Regions from separate parts of the Homo sapiens genome. Here regions 1, 2 and 4 are each linked to region 3. The links are contacts of gene promoters, found by promoter capture Hi-C in blood cells and fetal thymus (Javierre and others, 2016). All regions are on one chromosome and are shown on one strand. Each heading gives the region's core, a stretch centred on a gene start or on the middle of the fragment in contact. The rest is flanking DNA. Distances are from core to core; before and after follow the strand shown. Region 1 overlaps PTS (6-pyruvoyltetrahydropterin synthase). Region 2 holds the start of PLET1 (placenta expressed transcript 1). Region 3 holds the start of TTC12 (tetratricopeptide repeat domain 12). Region 4 overlaps LINC02762 (long intergenic non-protein coding RNA 2762).

Region 1 (3,239 bases), core at 235-2,734, 1.1 Mb after region 3:
GCAGAGGCACTCGGCCAAGGCTGAAAAGGGTGTAAATTCTGCTTATGTTAATGCACTAGGGAGCATCAAGATGCTGCTCAGTCTCTGCCTGTAGAAGTAGAAAATGTCTTTCAGGTGTCCAGCTACACAGCAAGCTGGTCCAATACTGAGCAGTACCTTTCTGAACAAGCAATACTACTGGGCCTTAAATTCTTGTCCCCTTACTCACATGAATGTATACAAAGTCTAAAGTAATGCTTTGTAAATTAAAAAGTGCTTGTGAGAAGCATTTGAAAAATCTTGGCCAGGCGTGGTGGCTCAAGCCTGTAATCCCAGCACTTCGGGAGGCCGAGGCGGGCAGATCACCTGAGGTCTGGAGTTTGAGAGCAGCCTGGCCAACATGGTGAAACCCCATCTCTACTAAAAATACAAAAATTAGCCAGGCATAGTGGCGGGCGCCTGTAATCTCAGCTACTCGGGAGGCTGAGGCTGGAGAATCGCTCGAACCTGGGAGGTGGAGGTTGTAGTGACGGGAGATCACACCATTCCAGCCTGGGCAAAAAGAGTGGAACTCCATCTCAAAAAAAAAAACAACAACAACAAAAAAAAACTTTATCAGTGCTTTACACATTAATAACTTTTATGAATTTATGTATTTTAGTTCTGTACAAATACCATTAGATATTACATGTAAGTGAGTACACTGAGACTGAGATACCATAGATTAAGGAAGAGGCTGTAGCTAAACCAGTAATCCTAATCTCCTGACACCTTGTCTGTTTTTTTTTATGCCACCACACCACATACTGTTTTATACTCTACGACTTATGTACCTGTTTTTTAAGGCAGGCTGTACCTCAAAGAATCAAGTCTCTTATCCTTGAACAAATTACCTACTTTCTTCGAACACTGCTGGCAAAGCTTTAGACCAAACCTATTTTTCTGCCATACATTACATTCCTAGGCAACATTCCCCTTTTGTCAGTCATTATTTACTCAAAGAATAAAATCTAATTTTAACATTAGCCTTGGCCATACCTAATCAGAAAGAAACTTGTTGTGTACTCTAGGACAAAGAAAAATGCTTTAAACCATTCATTGTTTTGGACTGTTTGTAAGAGTTGACATTGCAAGGTAAAACTTAACACACACCCAACCAAGACAACAGATCCTTTCATTCTGAACTCCCATTTAATTTCTCATTCAAGGCTCAAAGCATTCACACTGTGTCCGTAAGTTTTCCCATTCTTTATGTCTACATTTGCTGAATACTCTTTCATCCTTATTGAAGGGCTGAAATGTCATCAGTTTTTCTCTCACCTTTATAATTGTGCCCATGGCCATTTGGATTGTTGCATTTCCCAAACAGTTTCAAGTTTTCTTCATCACTTAGAAATTTACTGACCAAAAAAAAAAAAAAAAGTCAGCATGACACAAGTATCACATTCAAACCCCCTTCTCTGTTCCTTATATTTATTATTTGTACTGATCTTTGAAAAGTTTCCCAATTTATTACTTTAGCTCACCAAAGGGAGAGTCAGAAATCATGTTGATTTTATTACTTACGTATACGTCACAAACCATGGCATATTCCCTAATTAGAAGATTGTACCATACAAATTAGCACAAACAAACCTTAACTTCAACCCCCTTGTTCCACAGCAACTGATCTGCTCATGGGCCTTCCACTTTTCAATTCAACATTACTGAGTGCCTACAATGTAACAGGCAAGTGCTGAATGAAATAACAGCATATAATGATAAACATAGATGGTGATCCGCAAAGTGGCTTACTATCTCATTTCTCTCAGAAGCTAAACTACTCATCCAGAAAAAATAATTTAAAAAAATTACATGACCTGGTAAGTCTCCTATTTAGCAATCTTGCTTTATACTATGTCTCAACTACTGCCTCATGAGAACTTTACCAATCTGTTGAGGAATATTCCAAGCAGGTGAATTTTTAAAATTACAATCTTTGGCTGTCGTCTCAGACAGAAAACAAATTGCTTAATGTTTATACTTATACCCATCCATTCAATTTCGCATCGTCTATGAGACCTTACCACCCTCAGGTGTTTAAGCTTATTATACAACCCCTTTTTTTTGAGATCCTCTTTATTATTCCCCCCAATGTAGTTTGGATGTTTGTCCCCTCCAATTGTCATGTTGAAATGTGATCCCCAGTGTTGGAGATGGGGCCTAGTGGGAGATGTTTGGCTCATGGAAGTGGATCCCTTATGAATGGCTTGGTGCCCTCCCTGAAGCAATGAGTGAGTTCTCGCTCTATTAGTCAATGGGCGAGCTGGTTGTTAAAAAAAGCCTGGCACCTCCTCTCCTCTCTCTTGCTCCCTCACTTGCCCTGTGAGTTGCCTGCTTGCTCGCCCTTCGCCTTCCACCATGAGTGGAAGGTCCCTGAGGCCTCAACAGAAGCAGATGCTGGTGCCATGCTTCTTGTACAGCCTGCAGAACCAAATAAACCTCTTTTCTTTATAAAATACCAGTCTCAGTATTCCTTTGTGGCAATGCAAAATGGAATAACACACCCCCACTTTCTCCTGCTCAGCCACTTCTTGTATTTAGAGTGCTAAAGTCTTTTGCACAAAATTTTCTCAGTGTACCCTCCACAAAATAGGCCAGATTGGAAACCCCATACAAGATCCCTGATGCATCCGTTACCTAGCACAAGCCCTGACAAGCACGAAACAAAACCTGGTTTAGCGAATGGAGGGATGAATCCTGTTAGATAGCGATGGTCATCCTCATTTCACAGACGACGATACGGAGGGCCAGAGGGTGGAGCTGGTTAGTGCGTGGTAAAATTCCTCAAAATCAACTCGTCAGTGCATGCAAGCAGTATGTATGATCGGGATTCAAATCCCAACTATGCTGCTTCGGAAACTGAACGTCTGGGCTCATTTTTTTTTTTTTTTCTCCTAGCCACTAGACCACCAGGGACTGGGTTCATCCAGTCTTTGGTAAAAAAGGGGCTAAAATTTGCCTTGTAATTACATTAGATATGGTGGCCAATGCTCCTGGCATACAAGATTAGCTAACATTTACTGAGTGTCTACGCCGCGCCAGGTACTGTGTAACATAGGCGAGTTTAACACTGCTGAGTTTCACAGCAACCCTGTGGTCTACACCAAGGGACTCCTAGGGGCAGAGACGTTTCTTCGAGTCGCAGAACCGGGTGTGGGCCCCGCACCCAGACGTGGGCCATCGCCCTCCGCAGTCGGCTCCGTTAACCATCAAGCTCC
Region 2 (3,083 bases), core at 401-2,900, 1.1 Mb after region 3:
ATGTGCATATTCAGTTGACCCAGCACCATTTATTTCCCCATTGAGTTGTCTTGTTACCCTTGTCAAAACCCAGTTAATAATAAATGTGTGGGTATGTTTCTGAAATCTCAATTCTATTTCATTGATGTATATGTCTATCCTTATGTCAGTACCACACTGTCTTGATTACTGTAGCTACACAGTAAATTTTAAAATTGGGAAGTGTGAGTCCTCAAACTTTGTGAGTTTTGTTTGTTTGTTTTCAAGATCATTTTGACTATCCTGAGTGTATTGTTATAGTTTTCCGTATACAAGTCTTGCACTTGTTTTGTTAAATGTATTCAATTGACCCATCTTCAAGTTCACCAATACTTTCTTCTACCAGTTCAAATATGCTGTTGAGTTCTTCTGGTGACTTTTTAAAATCGTAGTTATTGTACTTTTCCATTGCAGAATTTCTATTTGGCTCTTTTTATCATTTTAATCTCTTTATTACTATTCTTTACTTGGTGAGACAATCACCAAAATCAATCTCATACTTTCCTTTAATTCTTTAGACATGATTTTTTCTAGTTCTTTGAACGTATTTATAAAGCTGAGTTAACGTCTATGTCAAGTTCAGCGTGTGGGCTTCCTCAGGGACAGTTTCTGTTTACCTGGGATGTTTTTTTCTTCTGTATAAGCCATACTTTCTTGTTTATTTGTATATCTTATAATTTTTCTTGAAAACTGAACATTTAAAAAACATGAAGCCAAGCAAAGTGACTTATGCCCATAATCCCAGCACTTTGGGAGGCTGAGGCAGGAGGATTGCTTATGCCCAGGAGTTCAATAACAGTCTGGACAACATAGCAAGACTCTACAAAAACTATAAAAATTAACCAGGTGTGATGACACGTGCCTATAGCCCCAGCTACTTGGGAAGCTGCAGCAGGAGGATCACTTAAGCCCAAGAATTTGAGGCTGCAGTGAGCTATGATTGCACCACTTCACTCCAGCCTGGGCAATAGTGAGACTGTGTCTCAAAAAAATAAATAAATACATACATACACACACACACACACACACACACACACACACAAATGTGACAACTTTGGACACCAGACTCCCTTCTCCTCCCTGAGTTTGTTTTTGTTGCTGTTTGTTATTCTTTTTTATTGTTGTTGTTGCTGCTGTTTGTTTTATGACTTTCCTAAATTAATTATGTGAAGTCTGTATTCTTTATCATGTGTAACCACCAAAGTCTCTGTTCTGTTTGCTTATTGACCAGCTAATAAATAGATTTTTAAAAAATTTCTTTAACTAATAACTCTGGAACCAACAAGTCTCCCAGTCTTTGCTAAGCACTTCTGCATGTGTGTTTTGGGGAATGCCTTCAGTGATCAGATAGGCAGTTTACAGCTCTACCTTAGCCTTTACTTCTTACTTGTGCAGAGCCTCAAGGTCGGCCAGAGGTGAGTAATTAGGGCCTCCTCAGGTCTTTCCTGGGAATGTGTGTAGCCCTGCACATGCACATGGCTTTTTAGATTCCCAGGGATTCGTCCAAGCTTTTCAAACCCCCTATAGACATCTCATTCCTCAGGGGTTTATTTTACATTTTACACAACTCTGAATTTCACTTGCTGGTATTCACATCTTCTCAATGGCTTTCTTCAAACAGCAGATGCTGAAATGACAGGCGTAAAAGAAAACCATATTCAGGACATTCCCTTTCTTGAGCAAAACTGCAATTTGCAAAATCATCGGTGACAGGTAATGGTGACTGGTGATTCATTCCTGGTGATGTCTTGGGCCAAATTCCAGAATCCAATGTATATTCAGAAGGGGCAGGGAGAAGATCTGCATGTATGACTTCACCCAGAAGCCCTGGCATATAAACAAGAGGTGAGTTGTCAGTTTCACCCAATTCCAGGCCTAGCACTTTCCAAACAGACTGAGACCATGGCAGTCTTCCATGACATGCTGCTGCAGCCACTGGGGATGTTTCTGTGCCTCAGTCTGCAGCTTTCTTCTGCCACCTTTATAAGGTACAGTAGCACCTGCTTCACCTTTGATGAATACTACACCATAACCCTAGACATCAAGGCCAGTTCACATATCTACGAAAGCAATGCAGTCTATTCTGGTGAGTAGAAGCCATGCTCTCTGCTGTCCTTTGTTCCCTGAGGGAAATTAACCAGAATTTCAGAACACACCCCTCTATCGCTACTCTCAATTATACAAAACATGTGTCTTCTGAACCAAATGGGAAGCAAGGGAAGGAAGACAAAGAATGAGAATTAAGGGAGTGGGCTGGGGGGCTATTTCTGCAAATTCCTTGTGAACTCAAGCCACAGGAGCGAGAAAGCCCCAACCCCAGATTCACTGAGTCCCAGCAAGAGCACACTTGGGGTAGATTCTCTGACTTAAATAAAATGGGCAGTTTTATCATTTTAAGGGATAATCATTGCATTCCAGTGTATAATCTTTTCTCTTTTTGTTTTTGTTTTTCTGGAGACAGAGTCTCACTTTGTCACCCAGGCTGGAGTGTAATGGTACAATTTCAGCTCACTGCAACCTCCGCCTCCTGGGTTCAAGCAATTCTTGTACCTCAGCCTCCCAAGTAGCTGGGATTACAGGTGCACACCACCACGCCTGGCTAATTTTTTGTATTTTAGTAGAGATGGGGCTTCTCCATGTTGACCAGGCTGGTCTCGAACTCCTGGCTTCAAGTGATCCACCCACCTCAGTCACCCAAAGTGCTGGAATTACAGGTGTGAGCCACTGTACCCAGCCTCCAGTGTGTAATCTTTTCATATCTATTTGACAATATGATGCCTCTGGGGATAATTGTGTACTGCATTTAGTCCGTGGGTGAAAAAAATCTAATAAACAACACAGGGGAAGTATTACTAACCCACTTTATGTATGAAAAGCCTGAGACCAAGGGAAATTAAATGACCTGCCCAGAGTCTCCCTTCTAGTAAGTCATAGAACTGGCTCTTGAATCTTAGTCTGTTCATTCTTAATCCAATGCTTTTCTTAGAGGTGTCCAGTAGATATTTTTTATATAGCCCTTTTTGAATCAGCCAAACCTAAAAGTCAAGGAATATGCTTTCTAATTC
Region 3 (3,209 bases), core at 14-2,513:
TGTGGATGTGTGACAGGTAACAAACTTGGGGCAATTTGCATCTAAATGTCCATACTTGTTTAAAATCTGCCTTTGGCTTGTTTCTGAAGAGTGAAGAAAGGGTACAAATTGACTGAAGGGATTAGAACATAATGTTACCATGCTCACCAGCGTCTCTTCTGCTCTAGGTACCTCAGATATTATTTTACAGTTGTTTTTGTGCGAGAAGGCCCCGTGGTGTACCCAGCAGTACTCAGTGGTTCATCCACAGATCATAAAAATCATCGGGAAGATTGTTAAATATACAGCTTCCTCAGCCGTAGCCCGAGATTTCAAGTCAGTAAACCCGGGACATTGCCCAGACACGAATATAGATTTTAAACACTTTCCAGGTGATTCTCATTTATGGCCAGGTTTCATAGTAGTGTAACACGCTTCTAACACGTAATCTGCCACGAACAAACTACGAGTGATTTAATCGAGTCTCAGTGTCCTCATCTCCACCAGTTACAAGCTGTGTGATTCTGGCTAAATTCACAACCTCTCCGAGCCTCAGAGTCCTCACCCATACTATGGGAACAGTAAGAGAGAAACTACGAGGACTATTCTGGGGACTGATGTAAAGCACCAGGCACGCGACGAGTCCTCACCGTGAAGCACCCTTACCTATATAAAACAGGGGGTGGGGTTGCGGCTTAACTGAATAATCGCTAGGGTTTCTTCCAGGTCAAATCTTTTCAACTCCCACGGAACAGAGGCCTAGTCCAGTGAATTAATCTGCCCAACGGTATGAAGGTTAGAAGGCAGGCGCGCGGGTGCATGGACAGGAGACAACCTCTGTCTCCCAGGGCATGGATCTCAGGGTCCTCACTGCCTGGCCAGTGCCCCCCTACGCTAGGGTGAGAGGGCCAGAGCCAGGTGATGGCGAAGCGGCGCCGCGCTCAGTGCTTCACTCGGTAGGGCTGCGGCAGCGGGGACCTGTGCCCGAGCCCCGCGCGGAGCCTGCCCCAGACGCGCGCTGCCCGCCGGGCGCAAAGAGGCCAGGCCGCACGCACTGTTGCCCAGCAACCGCTCCCAGGCGTCCGCAAGTCCCGGGCCCTCCATGCAGGTCCCAGACCGCAGCCGTCCCAGACCGCAGCCAAGACCTTCCCATGCTCTGGGGCCCAAAGCAGCGTCCTCTGCTCGGCTCTGAAGGCCAGTGCAGGACCAGCTCCCAGGGGGGATTCCGGGGTACCCCGCGGCACCGACCTGATTCGCCCAGCTTTGGACAGGAAATGGCGCAGTGACCTGCCTGGGCTGGGGCGGGGCCAGGAGCCAGGGGCCCGGGGCGGGACCAAGGGCGGGGCCAGGAGCCAGGGCCCGGGGCGGGACCAAGGACGGGGTCAAAAGCCAGGAGGCGGGACAGGGGGCGGGCATGGACACGCGATCAGATTCGCTACCGCAGAGCTCTAGCTCCGGAGCGCGCCAAGTTGAAGGCCAAAGTCGAGGTTGGGATGCCCGATGCCTGGCGCGGGGAGACGGAGGAAGCAAAGTGCTGGTAACTAAAGCAGCGCCTGCTGCTCGCCTTTTTTCTACTGAAGAAGGGTTGTCTCACTCCCGTTAGCTTAATATCCTTGCCCAAAATGTAAAGTCTCCAGTGTACTTGTGAATCCGGTTTTGTTCATTGATAAATGTGTGAGTTAGAAGACTCACACATTTATCCTTAGGAAAGTTATTTGAGTAACCTTTTTAATCCTCAGTTTTCTCACCTGTGAAATGGAGAAATGGCACTTTCTCATAAGGTTTATGGTTAAAGTGCTGTAACCGCCCAATAGGTTCACCTTGCTCACTGCCTAAACAGAGTCGATTTATCAAGACAGGGGAATTGCAATAGAGAAAGAGTAATTCACACAAAGCTGGCTGTGAGGGAGACCGGAGTTTTATTATTACTCAAATCAGTCTCCCTAGCTTTCAGGGATCAGAGTTTTTAAGGATAATTTGGTGGGTAGGGGTCAGTGAGTCGGGAGTGCTGATTGGTAGGCTAGGAGATGAACTCACAGGGAGTCAAAGCTGTCCTCTTGTGCTGAGTCAGTTGCCAGGTGGGGGTCATAAGACCAGATGAGCCAGTTTATTCATCTGGGTGGTGCCAGCTGATCCATCGAGTGCAGTGTCTGTGAAATATCTTAAGCACTGATCTTAGGTTTTACAATAGTTGATGTTATCCCCAGGAGCAATTTGAGGTTTAGAATCTTGCAGCCTCTAGCTGCATGACTCCTAAACCATAATTTCTAATTTTGTGGCTAATTTGTTAGTCCTGAAAAGGCAGTCTAGTTCCTGGGCAAGAAGGGGGTTTGTTTGGGAAAGGGCTGGTATTGTCTTTGTTTCAAAGCTACACTATAAACTAAGTTCCCCCCAAAGTTAGTTTGGCCTATGCCTAGGAATGAACAAAGACAGCTTGGAGATGAGAAGCAAGATGGAGTCGGTTAGGTCAGATCCCTTTCACCATCTCAGTTATAATTTTGCAATGGTGGTTTCAGTGCCTGGTACCTAGTCAGTAGGAACAGGTGGCACGTGACATCCGGGGAATCATAGGGTTTAGAACAGAATGAGCTAATAGGCACATTCATTCATGCCCCAAATACATGCACACAGCCCTAAAGAAATTTCAGTCTGTTTTTCTAAACAAAATCTCAGAGTATTATGTGCAGGGTTACCAATGGAAAAAAAGCAGGTTTAGGGGAAACTTGAGCTTAAGTTCACGGTCAGAAACACCCGGAACTTCTTGGCAAATGAGTGCTTTATGGAAACCTGTTTGGCAGGGAACAAGGAGCCCCTAGAGATGGAATTCGCCAGAGGGGAGAGGGATCCAGGCATGGCCAGCTAGCTCTAGTGTTGATTCCAAGTACAGCCTGTTGACTCTCTTGTGGCCTAGGCCCCATAGGATGCATGCCTGTGTCCTGTAGAGAACAGAAGAGCTGTTTGGCTGAAGTCTCTATGATGCATTGGTACACATACCATCCTGCTTGGGTACCCCTCTAATGCAGTATAACACAAAGGGGCCACGGATGTTCTGCTCCTCTTGGCAGCTGAATGGGTACAGCATCAGCAGAGTGAGTCTTTTGGCTCATCAACTGCAGCAGGAGACCTGGGGATCCCAGCAGGACATGGTCACAGTGGCTGTCCCAAGGGAATGAGGTGCCTCAGGAGAAGTAGCAGACAGTGTAGGTGCCTGGCAGGAGCAAGGACGTTGA
Region 4 (3,336 bases), core at 371-2,870, 1.0 Mb after region 3:
TTGCCTTTGGCCTTTAAAATATCTCAAAGAGCCCCTCTGAATCCACAGCAGCTCCAAGAACACCTCAGCACAGAGTTTGGGAACATGCATGGAACTCACTCCTGCTCCTCTCCTCATCCCACACTCCCCAGGGTTCACAGTGCTCCTCCTGCAAGCATCTTCTTTCTTGCCAAATGCTTTCCCACCTCAGCACTTTGTGCCCTTGCTCTTCTCTCTGCCTGGAATGCTCTTCCTCAGGTCTCCGCAGGCCCAGCTCCTTCTTGGCCTCCAGGTCTTGGTTCAAAGACCACTGTGCTCCCTAAAGCCTCTTCAGGCCTCCCACCAAATCACTTCTATCCTATGGGCCTGTTTCCTTTTCTGTATAGCTTTTATCACTATCTGAAGTTATCCTGCTTAGTTTACTTACTTATTTTCAAGCTTCCCCACCAGAATGTGAACTTGATGAGAACAGAGACTTTTGTTCATTACTGTTTCCGCAGAACCCGCAACAATGGTTAGCAATAAGTAGACAATAAACAATTGTTCAATGAATGACTGCAGCCTCTACACTCAGCTCAGGGAGATAAAAGGTAAGAAGAATGTGCTTTACACGTGCTATCCCCTTGGATCTTCACAACACTCTTTGGAAATAGATACAAATAGACATGATTAACCCCATTTAATAGATGAGAAACTCACATTGAAAGAAGTTAAGTGTTCAAAGCTGCACAGCTGAAGTGGCAGAGCTAAGATTCAAGTTCATGTCTACTTGACTGCAAAGGCTGCTTTTCATAAAATCACATTAACATCATGTTGGATACCTTCGATACACACAATACATTTTTTTTTAAGACGGAGTTTCACCCTTGTCACCCAGGCTGAAGTGCAGTGGCACAACCTCGGCTCACTGCAACCTCCACCTCCTGGGTTCAAGCGATTCTCCTGCCTCAGCCTCCCAAGTGGCTGGGACTACAGGCATGAGCCACTACATTGGCTAATTTTTGTATTTTTAGTAGATACAGGGTTTCATCATGCTGGCCAGGCTAGTCTCAAACTCCTGACCTCAGGTAATCCACTGGCCTTGGCCTCCCAAAGTGCTGGGATTACAGGCATGAGCTACCGCACCCGGCCAACATTTATTTTTTTTAAAAAAAATGTTAACCACATTGCCTCCCATTATCCCATTATCCACCTAGAAAAGCTAATAATAACAATGGCAAAGTCAAGAAATGTAGCCAAGGGGCCAACAGAGCCCCAGAGTCCTTAGAGAAACTGGCCACATCGGCATTTCCCCACTCGAGGACTCAGCCCCTGCCTCCAGTAGAAAATAGCAGAGGTGCCCACCTGGGAAGGCCTTGCCTTTATTATTCCTCTGGCCATAGCTGGCCATACCAAGGAGACCTCTTGCAGACATATCTTCTGGCCTGGCCCATGTTACTCTGTAAACCTAATGACATGTGTAACTCTCGTTGCTGATTACAACTGCCGAGCTCCTGTTGATCATCATGACAGGTAAGAGGCAAACACACATGCAGCTGCAATCAAGGACATGATGAGCACCTACCCTGAGCTCTGGATGGCACTGGGTGCTCAGGTTGCCCACATTTTAGACAGTCGCTGATTGGAGCAAGAATTATTAGGCCACACTCATCTGCATCCCCCAGGAAATGCTGGGTTGCCTTGACCCCCTGGGAGGAGTTATGAAGGGTCCCCACAGGCTAGAGCTTGGGTGGCTGGACACTGAGTTGGAGACCCTCGTACAAAGAAAGGGAGATTAAAATTTGTTCTGTAGAGTCAAGGGACTTGTGCTTGTCAACTTCCCCTCTTCATATGGCTTTGTTTCCCCATGTTGCTTTTAAACAGGTGGTTCAGGCAGGAGAAGAAATCAGCTCTTCCCTCCTCACCCCTATACTCCCCTTGGCCTGGCCCAGCTATAACTTCTGCTTATTCAAGACTCAGTAGTGTTGGTGCTGCCTCCAGGAAGCCTGTCCTGGCCCCTGAGACCTCTCCTCTGTGCTCAGAATAACCCCCATACATCACTGGATCCTGGTACTCGCCCTGCTGCATTATAATTATCTAAGTGTGGGTCTGTCTCCCATCCGGGCTGTGAGCTGAACTGAGGTAGGAACTGTGACCCATTTACTGTCATGTCTCCAGCTAACACCATGCCTGGCACAGAGTAAGTGGAATAAATATCTGGGCTAATGGAGTTGCTGGATTACCAGACTACGTGTTCTGACAGGTAGCTGGGAAGATAGGATCATCATAGTTCTAGTCTCTGTGCTGCCGACATTCACAAGCTCTTGGAAGACCTTAGGAATCATCTAGCCCTGTGCACAGGTTCCCACATCCTGAGGTCCCTGCACCAGGAAGGGTGGTCTGCCAGAACTACAAAGGCCGAGGGAACAACTTCTCAGGAAAGCCTTGGCCACAGGCTACTCTCATTTCTGAAGGCTCTGAGCCTATCTCACTGACCATTTAGAACAAATTGTTCATGACTCAACTTCATTATCTTCTACCCCGTATAGGAGCCCCAGCCTCCTCGGCTCTGCATTAGGTCATTGTTATCGCTCCCTTGTGGGCTTGCCATGTCACCTCCACAAGCAGCAGCAAAAATCACTTGCCAGAAAAAATGTCAGAAAAGCAATTAACATGAGCCTGGGTAGCAAGAAAGAAGCAACACATAAGAACAAAGGAGATGGCTCCTCCCTGCAAAGTCTGTGATTGCCTACCAGGGAAGCCAGCTCTGGGAGACCTGGGGATTGGGCTTGAGCCATCAGCCTCTGCCCCTGGTGCTTTATTTCAGAAGCACCAGCATCCCTTTAATCATGCGCAGGAAGCTTGACTGCTGTGGGAGCCCAAAGGGACCACCTGAAGCCTGTGATGAGACGGGCTGCAGCGCAGGAGAAAGACAGAGTCTCTCCCACTGCCTACTGAGGAATGCAGCTGCTCTGCAGCTGAACTTGGAGAGGCAAGAAAGAGAACAGACATTTAGGAAATGAGAGGTGACCCAGTGTCTGAACACTGAAGGTCATGGGGAGATACAAGAGACAGAGAACAGGCTGAGCATGGTGGCTCACGCCTGTAATCCCAGCACTTTGGGAGGTGGGCAGATCACGAGGTCAAGAGATTGAGACCATCCTGGCCAACACAGTGAAACCCCGTCTCTACTAAATATACAAAAATTAGCTAGGCGTGGTGGCACATGCCTTTAATCCCAGCTACTTGGGAGGCTGAGCCAGGAGAATCCCTTGAACCCGGGAAGCAGAGCTTGCAGTGAACTGAGATCGCGCCACTGCACCCCAGCCTGGCGATAGAGCAAGACTCTGTCTCAAAAAAAAAGAGAGAACAAGGAGA

What was found. Contacts are between HindIII fragments. The CHiCAGO score rates a contact against its expected background, and 5 or more counts as called.
Region 1: a contact is called between a fragment that was not itself captured here and the fragment with the promoter of TTC12 in region 3, in 11 of 17 cell types (total B cells, activated CD4 T cells, total CD8 T cells and 8 more). The highest score is 22.4, in total B cells.
Region 2: a contact is called between the fragment with the promoter of PLET1 here and the fragment with the promoter of TTC12 in region 3, in 4 of 17 cell types (naive B cells, naive CD8 T cells, total B cells and 1 more). The highest score is 6.3, in naive B cells.
Region 4: a contact is called between a fragment that was not itself captured here and the fragment with the promoter of TTC12 in region 3, in 11 of 17 cell types (naive B cells, monocytes, total B cells and 8 more). The highest score is 13.2, in naive B cells.

What each region holds. Positions count from the first base shown.
Region 1 is chr11:112,226,734-112,229,972 of GRCh38, reverse strand. It overlaps PTS (6-pyruvoyltetrahydropterin synthase), which reads right to left. Exons shown (of 6, transcript NM_000317.3): 2 at 1,300-1,379. Among named protein-coding and RNA genes, the nearest start is that of PTS, 1.9 kb to the right of the region's middle. RefSeq lists a silencer at 2,613-2,907. The HindIII fragment of the contact is 1,163 bases long and covers 903-2,065 here.
Region 2 is chr11:112,259,427-112,262,509 of GRCh38, reverse strand. PLET1 (placenta expressed transcript 1) reads left to right here and starts at 1,650. Exons shown (of 4, transcript NM_001145024.1): 1 at 1,650-2,104. The coding sequence starts at 1,921. LOC100132686 (a long non-coding RNA gene) reads right to left here and starts at 2,245. Exons shown (of 1, transcript NR_133566.1): 1 at 1,114-2,245. The HindIII fragment of the contact is 13,385 bases long and covers 1,529-3,083 here.
Region 3 is chr11:113,312,637-113,315,845 of GRCh38, reverse strand. It overlaps TTC12 (tetratricopeptide repeat domain 12), which reads right to left and starts at 1,263. Exons shown (of 22, transcript NM_017868.4): 1 at 1,228-1,263. TTC12-DT (TTC12 divergent transcript) reads left to right here and starts at 1,390. Exons shown (of 5, transcript NR_199709.1): 1 at 1,390-1,516. RefSeq lists silencers at 893-992, 885-1,179, 1,203-1,452. The HindIII fragment of the contact is 13,389 bases long and covers 1-3,209 here.
Region 4 is chr11:112,285,392-112,288,727 of GRCh38, reverse strand. The region is part of intron 1 of LINC02762 (long intergenic non-protein coding RNA 2762); the gene reads right to left. Among named protein-coding and RNA genes, the nearest start is that of LINC02762, 16 kb to the right of the region's middle. The HindIII fragment of the contact is 2,402 bases long and covers 420-2,821 here.